Regions from separate parts of the Homo sapiens genome. Here region 2 is linked to region 1. The links are contacts of gene promoters, found by promoter capture Hi-C in blood cells and fetal thymus (Javierre and others, 2016). All regions are on one chromosome and are shown on one strand. The core of a region is centred on a gene start or on the middle of the fragment in contact, and the rest is flanking DNA. Distances in the headings are between cores, read along the strand shown.

Evidence for each region. Contacts are between HindIII fragments. The CHiCAGO score rates a contact against its expected background, and 5 or more counts as called.
Region 2: the fragment with the promoter of BST1 here is called in contact with the fragment with the promoter of CC2D2A in region 1 in 14 of 17 cell types (naive CD8 T cells, non-activated CD4 T cells, M1 macrophages and 11 more); the score reaches 10.9 in naive CD8 T cells.

What each region holds. Positions count from the first base shown.
Region 1 is chr4:15,466,215-15,472,272 of GRCh38, reverse strand. It overlaps CC2D2A (coiled-coil and C2 domain containing 2A), which reads right to left and starts at 2,391. Exons shown (of 37, transcript NM_001378615.1): 1 at 2,216-2,391. The HindIII fragment of the contact is 6,808 bases long and covers 1-4,415 here.
Region 2 is chr4:15,700,570-15,706,627 of GRCh38, reverse strand. It overlaps BST1 (bone marrow stromal cell antigen 1), which reads right to left and starts at 3,563. Exons shown (of 9, transcript NM_004334.3): 1 at 3,296-3,563; 2 at 987-1,113. The coding sequence starts at 3,483. RefSeq lists a silencer at 3,545-3,624. The HindIII fragment of the contact is 13,056 bases long and covers 1-6,058 here.

The DNA of each region.
Region 1 (6,058 bases), core at 1,142-3,641:
GCTTAGTAGTATGTGCCCCAATTTGCGTATGAGTAAACTGAGGCTCTGACAATTTACATGATTTTTCCAAAGTTATAATTATTAAATGTCACATTCAGAACTTGATCCCAAGACTCTGTGATTCCTGAGTCCTCCCTCACTCCACTCTACCCCTCCATCTCACCATTTATTCTTGCTTTTGCAATGGCATCAATAATTATTCTGTGCTTTCCAGAATAGTGGGCTATTCTGGAAATATTTACAGTTGAAAGCTGTGAAGCATTGCACTGGTGAGAAAAGGCTTAGGCTACATTAAGCCAATGATTTATTTTACTCAGTGCAGAAAACCAGATATATTTTTTCAAGGAAAGTACTGACACCTTCATCTGAATAAATGGACTATTCCTAAGAGTCATCAGTGGGTCAGAGCCATACCTGGAGGTTGAGATACAACGCATCTCAACTCCATATTGGTTGCTTAAAAAATCATACAATATATATGCCCTACTCCAGGATGGCAAAAACATGGGTTTATAGGAAGAGTGGTCCACATATTTCTTTGCCAAGGAATATGTGGACCTGAGTTCCAACTTCAGCTTTATTTATTAGCTGTGTGATCTTGGAACAATGCCCTCCCTTCTCTGAGACACGTTTTTTTTTTTTTTGTCTGCAACATTGCAATCATACTTCCTACCTTGAAGGATGATTAATTTATAAGGGCTAAATGATGAAATGTGTGTAGTAAAATGCCTAGCACAGGCTGGGCTCTCAATATTGGTAGGTTTTGTTACTAAGAAAAAGTGATTGTGGGGAGGGAAAGTGGAAAAAAGGAATGAGGAGGGAAAAGAGCTTGGGGGATAGAAGAGGAGTCATGAGAAAGACCTTAGGTGATGTTCAAGCCCACCCACCTTCAGCTCCAATCTTCAACCCCCAGCTACCATAACTCATGTTTCATGTCTCCCTCCCTTCAGCCAGGCCCAGGGCAGTTGCCTTGCTGTTTCCATTTATGGTGCTTCTGAAACCTCCTGCACTTCTACCCATGAGTATTTTCTTCCTCACACCCTGAGAACATTTTTCTGTTCCCTCCTGGAGCTTGGACACCTGGGGAGGTGCCACATACATTGTTTTGGAATACATTATCTTATTCTACAAGTTATTCCAGCTGCAGTTTCCCTTAGCATAAGGTTAGTGACCAATAGCTTTATAGAATCATTTAATCAGCTCGATATAATGTACACTGGCCTTGAAGAGTACACATGAGTACCATATTTGAGCTGTGTTACGTGATATATGACCAGTGCATTTACATGATGTGCTAAGTACTGGAAGCCCCTCCCTGGATGTCATCCCACTGTCCTCTCAGTGTTTTTATAAATCTCTTATGGCACTTAGCTCATTGTACTCTTATCATGTGTTTATAGGTCTGTTTTCCCAGCAAATTCTGAGCTTCTGACCTAGTCTAATTTATGTTTGCACACTCTAAACTTAAATTCATTGCCTGGTGCATTGTTGATGCTCCATAAATGTTTGAATGAATGACTCTATAAGTGAGCTCTAGGATATATATATATATATATATATATATATATATATATATATATATAGAGAGAGAGAGAGAGAGAGAGAGAGAGAGAGAGAGAGAGATTTCATGCTGGTGCTGAATTTATTTGCAGAAAAGGTTATATGAAAATGCAGTAGCAAACATATTTCTTATTTGACTTTATTAGCTTTTCATACCACCTCTTTGCAATGAAGGGAAACAAACAATCAGCTTAAGTTGTAGCCAGTACATTTTCTTGAAGTCTTTGGAAAGCACAGCAACTCTTAGCACTGTGGTTAGTAGCCCTTTCTCTGTCTCATACCAAGAAAAGTGTATTTTGCAGTAATTAGTGCTTCTCCCCTTAAGCCAGTTTGAACTAAAAGGCCCATAAATGCAACACGCAGCTAATGTTTCACAGAGCTTTGGTCAGAGAGCATTTTCACTCAGGACTTGTGATGAACTGGACTTACATTTCCTGCAAACCAGATACCAGATAGCAGCTCAAATCAAAGCTGCCAAGTAATGGTCTATGTTCCCATTTCAGAAAGTAAAAACATAAATAACGATGAGAGCCCCTAAATTTACAATTCATTAAATCCAGTCTCACGGTATCCTGGAGAGGCTGAACTTCAAGCCGGGTAACTGAAAACAGGAAATCACTGTTGCAGCCTAAAGTCCGGTTAGGGACTGATTTACCTTAAGAAACTTTACAAAAGGCACTTTGCAGATTCTGCATTCTAGGATGGAAGTGGAGAGAGACGGTGCTGTTGAATCTTTTAAAAGGGTCCGGAGGGAAAGGCTGAGTGTTGGAGATGCCCCTGGGCTCCTCCCTGGGAAGCTGCAGCCATGTCTTGGAGCAAAAACACCAGCTTAGCAACCCGTTCCTAAGGAAGGTCACTCGGTAGCTTTTTTTTTTTTCCTTTAAAGTGACAGGCTACTTCCAGTAGTGGAGTACAAGCATGCTGGGTAAGCAGAGACGCACAGCCTGCAGTAGAAGGACGGAGAGAAATCAACATGAGCAGCACTGGAAATTAGGTCAAGCCTTAAGAGCTGCCCCTCCCTCATGTCATCCGGTCGTCTTGCATTTCCAATGAAGAACAGGCTCAGAGGTGGGGGGATTTAGAATCTTAAAAGGTCGTCATTACATGGTGAAGCTGTCTAACGTGGCAGCAGCAAAAGCTCTGTGGAGGTGCTGCAGAGTACCAACAAATGTTGCACTTGAGTGTTTTCCAGTTAAAAGTGGAAGGTTGAACGCACAAGTTTAATCTTTGCCTATTCTCTGAATCCCACTGCAATTCCTGAAAACGGATATAAATGTTATGGCTCAAAAAAGTTGGAAAAAAAAAAAGAGGGAGAGGTAGGAGGCAAAGTAGCTGGAAGAGTAATAGAATGAATGGAGCCAAGGAAACACACTCCAATAGACTAGTGTGTATGTGCACATGTGTTTGTGTGTATTTGTGTCTGTGTGTATGGTGTGTGTATGTTTGTGTGTATGTGTATTGACTGTATCTTCTTATTTTCTGTATTCTTGATGCTCTGGCATTTGGAGCCTTGATCCTGGAGAAACTGATTCTCCTATGTTAGCTAATTTCTAGAGATAGCAAATGATTCCCCTGAAATATGCAAAGTCTCCTTTGATATACAAGCCAACCAATCCAGAGCCCACACAACCATCTCCATTATCAAACTCTCACACACTAAGCCAATATTCCTCCTGTCCTAAGTCACCCCAGGTCCAGATACCAGACCACTATAGCCCAGAGAACACCACGATTATTCAAGCTATCCACTCCTAAATTTATGCAGCACCCTACCCTGCTTCACCTATTCCTTCCTGGGAAAACCCTAGTAAAGGCTCTGTGCTGTACTCTGCTGTCTCCGTTCTGCCTTCTGACCAACATTGGTTCTTCCCTATGTGGTCCTGTGTGGCATGCCATGTTCTATGATTTGAATGTGTCTTCCCAAAAGCATGTATTGGAAACTTAATCCCTAACACAATGGTGTCGGGAGGTGGCACCTAATGAGAGGCAATTAGGCTGTAGGGCTCTGCCCTCATAAATGCATTAATGCCATTATTGCAGGAGTGGATTCCTTATAAAAGAATGAATTTGGCCTCGTTTTCTCTCTTTCTCTTTCTTGCTCTCATGTTTTCTTGCCTTGCACCATAGGATGGTGCAGCAAGAAGACCCTTGCAGGATGCCAGCCCCTTGATCTTGGACTTCCCAGCCACCAGAACTGTGAAAAATAAATTTCTGTTCATTATAAATTGCCCAGTCTGTGTATTCTGTTACAACAACAGAAAACGAACCAAGACACCATGCTTCTTGTTTCTAGGGATCTGTTAAGTATAAACTTCTTCTTTTGTGCCAATCATGTTTGTGTCTGTGTGTCTTACCATACCTAATTAAAACAAATCCAGAGTACATTTTTTGACACAGCCTGCATGCATGTGTATGTGTCAATGTATTTGTGTTTGTGTCTCTGTACGTGTATGTATGTGTGTGTGTGTCTGTGTATGATGGGGTGTGCACGTAGGCATGAATATGAGGAAATGAGCTGATTTACTGTGCCAGGATTTGGGGCAGCAGTGTTATAGCTGAATTGTGTTCTCTCTCATCCCCAAAGATGCTGAAGTCCTAACCTCAGTATCTCAGAATGGGACCTTATTTGGAGATAGGGTATTTACAGAGGTAATCACATTAAAATGAAGTCATTAGAGTGAGATCTAATCCAAGATGATTGCGTCCTTACAAAAGGGGAAATTTGGATTCAGAGACAGACAAAATAGAAGAAAGGCAACGTGAAGACATGGGGAGAGCACCATCTCCAAGCCAGGGAACACTCAAGGCTATCAGCAGCCAGGAGAGAGGCCTGGAACAGACTGTCTCTTGAAGCTTCACAAAGAATCAACCCTGCCACACCTTGATTTCAAATTTCTAGTCTCCTGAATTGTTAGAAAATTTCTGCTGTTTAAGCCACTCAGTGTGTGGTACTTTGTTACAACAGCATCAGGAAACTAATACAACCATAGACTAAGGAAGGTGGGGAGAGATACGGGGCTAAAAATGCAGGAAGATTTGAAAGTCTGTATATTAAGGGATTGATCCTCAGGATCCTTTTTCTTGGCAGCCTGAAAAATGCCCATTCCTCAGGCATAATTTCCGTCCTCCACATCTGCCTCATCTGCTGCTGCCCAAAGGAGACTGGCGGTTTCTTTTCTAGGGAAGTTAAACCAGAGACTCTCTGGTCTCAAGTTCCCAGGTACTGCAGCAAGTGAGTGTGTCTCAGGATTGAAAACTGTATATGAAATGAAGATGTTGCAGGGCCCTTTCTGAACCTTTCTCAAGAACTTAGACAATCAAGAACATGCCATTGGCTCCCCCATCCTACCTCTACCTGCACAAAACTGGAGAAAGTAGAAAATTATTTTCTGGAAAAACTGAATGATTATAAAGCACAGACCCTACATACTGACATTTCTGGATCCTCCAATGACAAAGCTAGCATATTGCCCTTACAGAAAAGCATTACAAAAAACATTAAAGGATCTCAGGCTAGGAAATTTAATGCTTGTAGTTATAAAAAGAGAGAACCATGAAAATGGAAAAGTATAATTTACCAAAGGAGTAATACAAGAACAACTGTATGAAATAATGTATTTTCCAATTGAAGGGGACAATCTACTATCTCGTGCTGGTAAAAGAAGACAATAAGAAAACTTGTCTGTCTTGGCTTGTATTCTGCATGTGGTGAGAAAAATATGAAGAATTTACAACCATTGGTTTGCACCATGCAGTTTGTCTTATTTATGCTCCTTATATATTTTAGGAGGCCCCTAAGTGATAACTTTTAAAAAGTGGCCTCTGTCTACTGTATCCCCGTGGGGTGCCAGGCAGAAGTTATTACAAAACTTTTCTGGAGGAACACACCTTCAATTGGACAATTCAGGATGTCCACAAATAAACACAGAGGAAGATGAGCTCACAACCCAAAATTAGACAACAGAAGAGAAACACTCAAGAGTCCACAGACAAACCAGAGGACACTATTAGATACTCAAGAGTTTCTTGCAATACAATAATCAGATGGAGAGTGGAAAAATAACAATGACCAAATATTCAAGAAGATACAAGGAGGATTTGAAAATATGAAAGAAGAGTGAGACACTATCAAAAAGATCAGACAAATTCAAAAAGTAACCAGATAGAACTTTTAGAAATAAATAATACAGTCACAAATTTAGATAAAAGTCAAAGAATGTGCTAAACTGTAGATGAGAGAGCTGAAGAGATGCAAAAGATAGGTTTAAAAAATTGAAATGTGGCACAGAGATATTGAAAATAGGAAAGAGTAGGTAAAAGATACAGGGAGAAATTGATGAGGTCCACCATATCCAGTACAGTACCAGAAGGAGAGGAGAGAGAAAGAAGTTGAATGCTCTGTCTTACAACTGAGGGATCTCGGTCAACTTTCTTAACCTTTCTAGGTTTCAGTTTCCTTCTCTGTAGGAAACTGAGGTTTAATAATAGTAACTATTCC
Region 2 (6,058 bases), core at 2,314-4,813, 230 kb before region 1:
ATCAGGTTAACAATGTTTATGTCACAGAAACAAAAATGGTGTCTAGCATTCCTTAAACTTGAGGTATTGTTTTAAGCAAGGGTTTTATGGAAATTTTCTCATTATTTTCATTTTATTAGACCTGAGAGTGTATACAGAATATAGATATGTGGTTTTCTTAAATAAACTGGTACTAAATAAATATAATCTTAAGACCCGTTAAATGGAGAGACTGGTCTCCCGGGAGGATACTGAGATTGAGAGTTTTCTGAATTACTCAAGGTTCAGGCCATTGGGCCAGTTAGGATGAAGGTTATTTAGAACTGGCCAGATGTGGAGGCCCAGTGTGACAGGTATGGCCATGTCCTGATGTCCTCATGTTGATTCTCACACTAACTTGCTAACTTAGGAAATTTTCTTCTGCCCACAACCAGCGGGAGATCTACAATCACTATTGGAAACTGATATGATTTGGATTTGTGTCTCTTGTAAAATTGTAATCCCCTATGTTGGAGGTGGGGCCTGGTGTGAGGTGATTGGATTATGGGGGTGGATTTCCCCCTTTGCTGCTGTTCTCCTGAGGGAGTTCTCAGAAGATCCAGTTGTTTACAAGCCTGTGGCACCTCCCTCTGCCCTTGGTCCTGCTCGTGCCATGTAAGACACCTGCTCCCACTTTGCCTTCTGCTGAAGTAAAAGCTCCCAGAGGCCTCCCAGAAGTAGATGTTGCCATTCTTCCTGTACAGCCTGTGGAACTGTGAACCAGTTAAACCTCTTTTCTTTGTAAATTACCCAGTCTCAGGCATTTCTTTATAGCAATGTGACAACGGACTAATACAGAAACAAAGCTAGCTTCCCACAGAGAGCTCAGCACACACATTATGTGTGCTGCCTGATGTTTCTGTGACATTGCAGGATGCAGGGGACAGCTAATGTCAACCTGGCCCATGCACCATCCATTTCTGTAGAGACAGAGAACACAGTTTTACCCAAGATGGTTGTGGTGTTACCTTATCTCTGGGAATAGAGTGCCTGGACAAGTTAATAAAAAGGTCATAGTCTGAGGGCAGCACGGAGCAGGGATCCTTGTCCAGCGCCACTTTAAAGGCTTCCCAGATGGCTGTGCAGTTCTTGTTCCTGTGCAAAAGTACAAGTTGGGAAGAACACACACATGCACATCATAATGTGTTGTGAAGTATGCCCATTTGTCTAAGAGCTTTACAAGAGATTTTTCATATAGTAACTGCAGAAGTAGGCTTACAAAAAAGACAACGAATTGTCATGGCTTAGGTGACAGATTCAGAAATCTGACACTGGAATTGTCTCTCTGAAGGCACTGCACAGATTTCTCAGAGCTAAGGAATACAGCCTTGCCCCAGGCTCACGGAGACAAGCAGAAATGGCACCGAGCAGGAGGTGACAAATTCAGTCAACTATACAGCAGGTGCCTCTTCATTTAGACCTAACGGTGGGGCCAGTCTCATAGTCCAGTTCCAGTGTGGAGCTCGGGGACCAGGTGAGGCCAGGCCAGCCAGCAGGATGTGTAGTGTTAGGAGGGAGGCCCAATGCTGCAAAAGGCTTCCACCTCTGGCAAAGCAGGTGCACCCTCCAGTGCAAGCCCCTCTTGAGGTCCATGCTAGTTTTCAAAAAATATTTCCCATAGCATTTGTAACTTTGTTTCTCATACTGGGTGGTGTGTAACACAGGTGGTTCTCTGCTGTTTCTTATTTGCCTGAAATGTGCGACAATAAAAATGATCAGCACAAGAAAGACATCACAAACATAAGAAAAGGGGGGCCACAGAAGGAACAAAAATCAGTAAGAAATGCAGCACTGGCAAGAAAGACCCAAACTTCAGAAATCCTCCAGATTTAGGGGATCTGAAATTTGAATTCTGGAAGGACTGGACTCAAGGAATTCCAACCTGAGATCACATTCTGGGTTCTGAGTATTCAGACTAAACATCTGCTGGGTGGCAATGGGCTGTTACCCAGTTCACCTCTACCCCACCCTCACTTCTAGAGGGATACCTCTCCACCCTCCTTCACACTCACACACACCTCTCACCTCTAGACCACACACACATCCCTCACCTCTAGACCACACACACATCCCTCACCTATAGACCACACACACACACCTGTCACCTCTAGACTACACACACACACCCCTCACCTCTAGAACAAACACACACACATCTCACCTCTAGAACACACACACAACTCACCTCTAGAACACACACACACACACATCCCTTACCTCTAGAACACACACACCTCTCACTTCTAGAACACACACACCCATCATCTCTAGAACACACACATCTCACCTCTAGAACACACACCCCTCAACTCCAGAACACACACACACCCCTCACCTCTAGAACACACATACACACCTCATCTCTAGAACACACACTCTCCTCAGCTCTAGAATACACATACACCCCCTCACCTCTAGAACACACACACCCCTCACCTCTAGACCACACACACATCCCTCACCTCTAGACCACACACACATCCCTCACCTATAGACCACACACACACACCTGTCACCTCTAGACTACACACACACACCCCTCACCTCTAGAACACAGATACACACACACCTCTAGAACACATGCACGCACCCCTCACCTCTAGAACACACACACACACATCTCACCTCCAGAACACACACACCCCTCACTTCTAGAACACACACACCCCTCACCTCTAGAATACACACACCCCTCACCTCTAGAGCGCACGCACACACACCCCCTTCACCTCTAGAACACACATGCACACACCCCTCACCTCTAGAACACACATACAGACACCTCACCTCTGGAACACACACACCCCTTACCTCTAGAACACACACACACATCTCACCTTTAGAACACACACACACACCCCTCACCTCTAGAGCACACACACACACACACACCCCCACCTCTAGAGCACACACACACACATCCACCTCTAGAGCACACACACACCTCCCACCTCTAGAGCGCGCGCACACACACACCCCCCTCACCTCTAGAACACACGCACACACCCCTCACCTCTACAGTGTGTGTGTGCGCGCACACACACACACTCATCTCTAGACCCCGCACAGCGCACCCCTCACCTGCAGACACACTTCACAGCCCCCTCCTCACTCGCCCCCATCGTTCAGGACCATCGCTGTCTCCACACTCACCTCTCCCCTCAAGGCCTCTCTCATTGCCCCCTCACCCCGAACTTTAGCGCCAGTTTTCCCCTCCCCAGGCCCTCCCCACCGTTGCCTCTTTCCGGCTCCCCTTCCACCCGGCCGACTGCCTCACCGCTGCTCGGGACTCAGCAGTGCGCGGTACTCGGCGCAGCGGCCCAGGAAGATGTCCCGCAAGTGTGCGCTGGTGCCCTCCCCGCGCCACCGCGCGCGCGCCCCGCCCGCCGCCAGCAGCAACAGTAGAAGCAGAAGCTGCAGCAGCAGCTGGAGCAGCCGCGATGCCGCGCACCCCTGGGCCGCCATCGGGGAACTTTGGTCCCTCCAGTCCCGTGCTTCCTCCACTCCCCTTCTCTCCTTCTACCAAGGCGGTTCCGCAAACTGATGCAGGGCGGGACTCTCGCTCGGATATCTCGCTGTTTGCCGTTTCCCGTTCCAGACAATTTCAAGACTGAGCGTGGGGCGGGGCGCGGCGGCTCATGCCTGTAATCCCAGCACTTTGAGAGGCCTAGACGGGCGGATCGCTTGAGTATAGGAGTTCGAGACAAACCTGAGTAACATACAGGTGAGAAACCTCCTCTCTACAAAAAAATACAAAACTTAGCTGGTCCTGGTGGTGCGCATCTGTAGTCTCAGCTACCTGCGAGGTGAGATGTGAGGAGGCTTGACCCCAGGGGATCGAGGCTGCAGCGAGCAGTGATTGCACCACTGCACTCCAGCCCTGGGCGACAGAGTGAGACTCTGTCTAAAAAAAAAATTAATAAATAAATAAAATTAAAAAAGAGTGAGCTTGGAACATCACCCAGGACAGGACCAGTGCACTGTGGCCCAGGCTAATCTTGACCGCTGTCCACGGGGAGGGAGCCCCAAAGAAGCCGCAAGGTTGAAGGAGAGGTGAGGAGAGGTCAGTCATCATCAGAAGAAATACTTTTCTGGCTCCAAAGGACGACAACTTTGACAGATGCCCTCTTTCACACCAACCAATAAGTGGTGTTTGTTTGTTTTCAGGAAATAATAACCACAACAACGTGCCAAGCACTTTGCAAGTATAATATTAATTACTTTCCGCAACACCCTTCCTAGCTAAGTTTGTAATTTCTCTCGCTTTAGCAATGGATAAACTCAGGGAAGTTAAGCATGTTCGGCCCTCCAGATTTGCGGATTCATCATCCAAATTCAGCTAACCACGGATGAGAAACATTTGAGGAAAAAAAGAATGCTTGCATCTGTACGGAACATGTACGGACTTTTTTTTCCTTGTCATCATTCCCTAAATAATCCAATGTAACAACTACTTATGTAACAATTACATAGTACTTGATATTACAAGGAATCTGGAGATGACGTGAATTATAGAAGAGGATGTGCAAATACTGTATACTACACCATTTAATATAAGGGCCTTGAGCATCTGTGGATTTTGGTATCCAGGAGGTTCCTGGAACCAATTCTCCATGGATACCTACCGCCGACTGTAACTTGTCAGAGGTCACAATATCCCTTCCTGATAGATGCAAAATCCTGGAGATGTTCAGTTTAAGAGAGCCAGGATTGGCCGGGCGCGGTGGCTCACACCTGTAATCCCAGCACTTTGGGAGGCCGAGGCGGGTGGATCACGAGGTCAAGAGATCGAGACCATCCTTGCTAACACGGTGAAACCCCGTCTCTACTAAAAATACAAAAGATTAGCCAGGCGCGGTGGCGGGCGCCTGTTGTCCCAGCTACTCGGGAGGCTGAGGCGGGAAAACGGCGTGAACCCAGGAGGCAGAGCTCGCAGTGAGCCGAGATCGGGCCACTGCACTCCAGTCTGGGCAACAGAGTGAGACTCCGTCTCAAAAAAAAAAAAAAAAAGAGCCAGTATTAATAGAATACCACGTGGAGGCCCAAGTCCTCAATTCTTACAATAATGACAGCAATGAACTTTGAGTGCCTGGCAAGCACTTGATAAACACAAGGGAGGACAGAACAGGTGTTCTCTACTGTTTTATTTGAATCTCTTTTTTTCTGTAACCAAAACCCGCATTCTCCTGTTCAGTTCCTCCTTAAGTTAAATCCACTTTCCAGAGGAAAGCATTTTTAATTCTTTCAAGTTTTGTTCCTGTGTTTACTTCCATATTTCTAAATAACATGTGTGAACCCGCAAATTTTGAGACAGGTCTCAATTAATTTAGAAAGTTTATTTTAGCAAGGTTGAGGACACGTGTCCATGACACAACCTCAGGAAGTCCTGACGACATGTACCCAAGGTGGTCAGGGCACAGCTTGGTTTTATACATTTTAGGGAGACATGAGATATCAATCAATATATGTAAGAAGTACATTGGTTCTGTCCAGAGAGGCGGGGACAACTCGAAGCACGGAGGGGGCTTCCAGGTCTCAGGTAGGTGAGAGACAAATGGTTGCCTTCTTTTGAGTTTCTGATAAGCCTTTCCAAAGAAGGCCATCAGAATATGCATATATCTCAGTGAGCAGCTGAATGACTTTGAATAGAATGGGAGGCAAGTTTGCCCTGAGCAGTTCCCAGCCTGACTTTTCCCTTTAGTTTAGTAATTTTGGGGCATCCCTGGCATGGCTCGTCCCACCAAATCTAATGTGAAATTGTAATCCCCAACGTTGGAGGTGGGGCCTGGTGGGAGGTGATTTTATCATGGGTGTGGGTTTCTCAAGAATAGTCTAGCACCATCCCCTTGTTGCTATTCTCATGATAGTAAGTGAGATCTGGTTGTTTTAAACTGTGTAGCACTGGCAGGGCGCCGTGGCTCACACCTGTAATCACAGCAGTTTGGGAGGCTGGTGTGGGGGGTGTGTTGGGAATCACGGATCGAGACCATCCTGGCCAACATGGTGAAACCCCATCTATACTAAAAATACAAAAATTAGC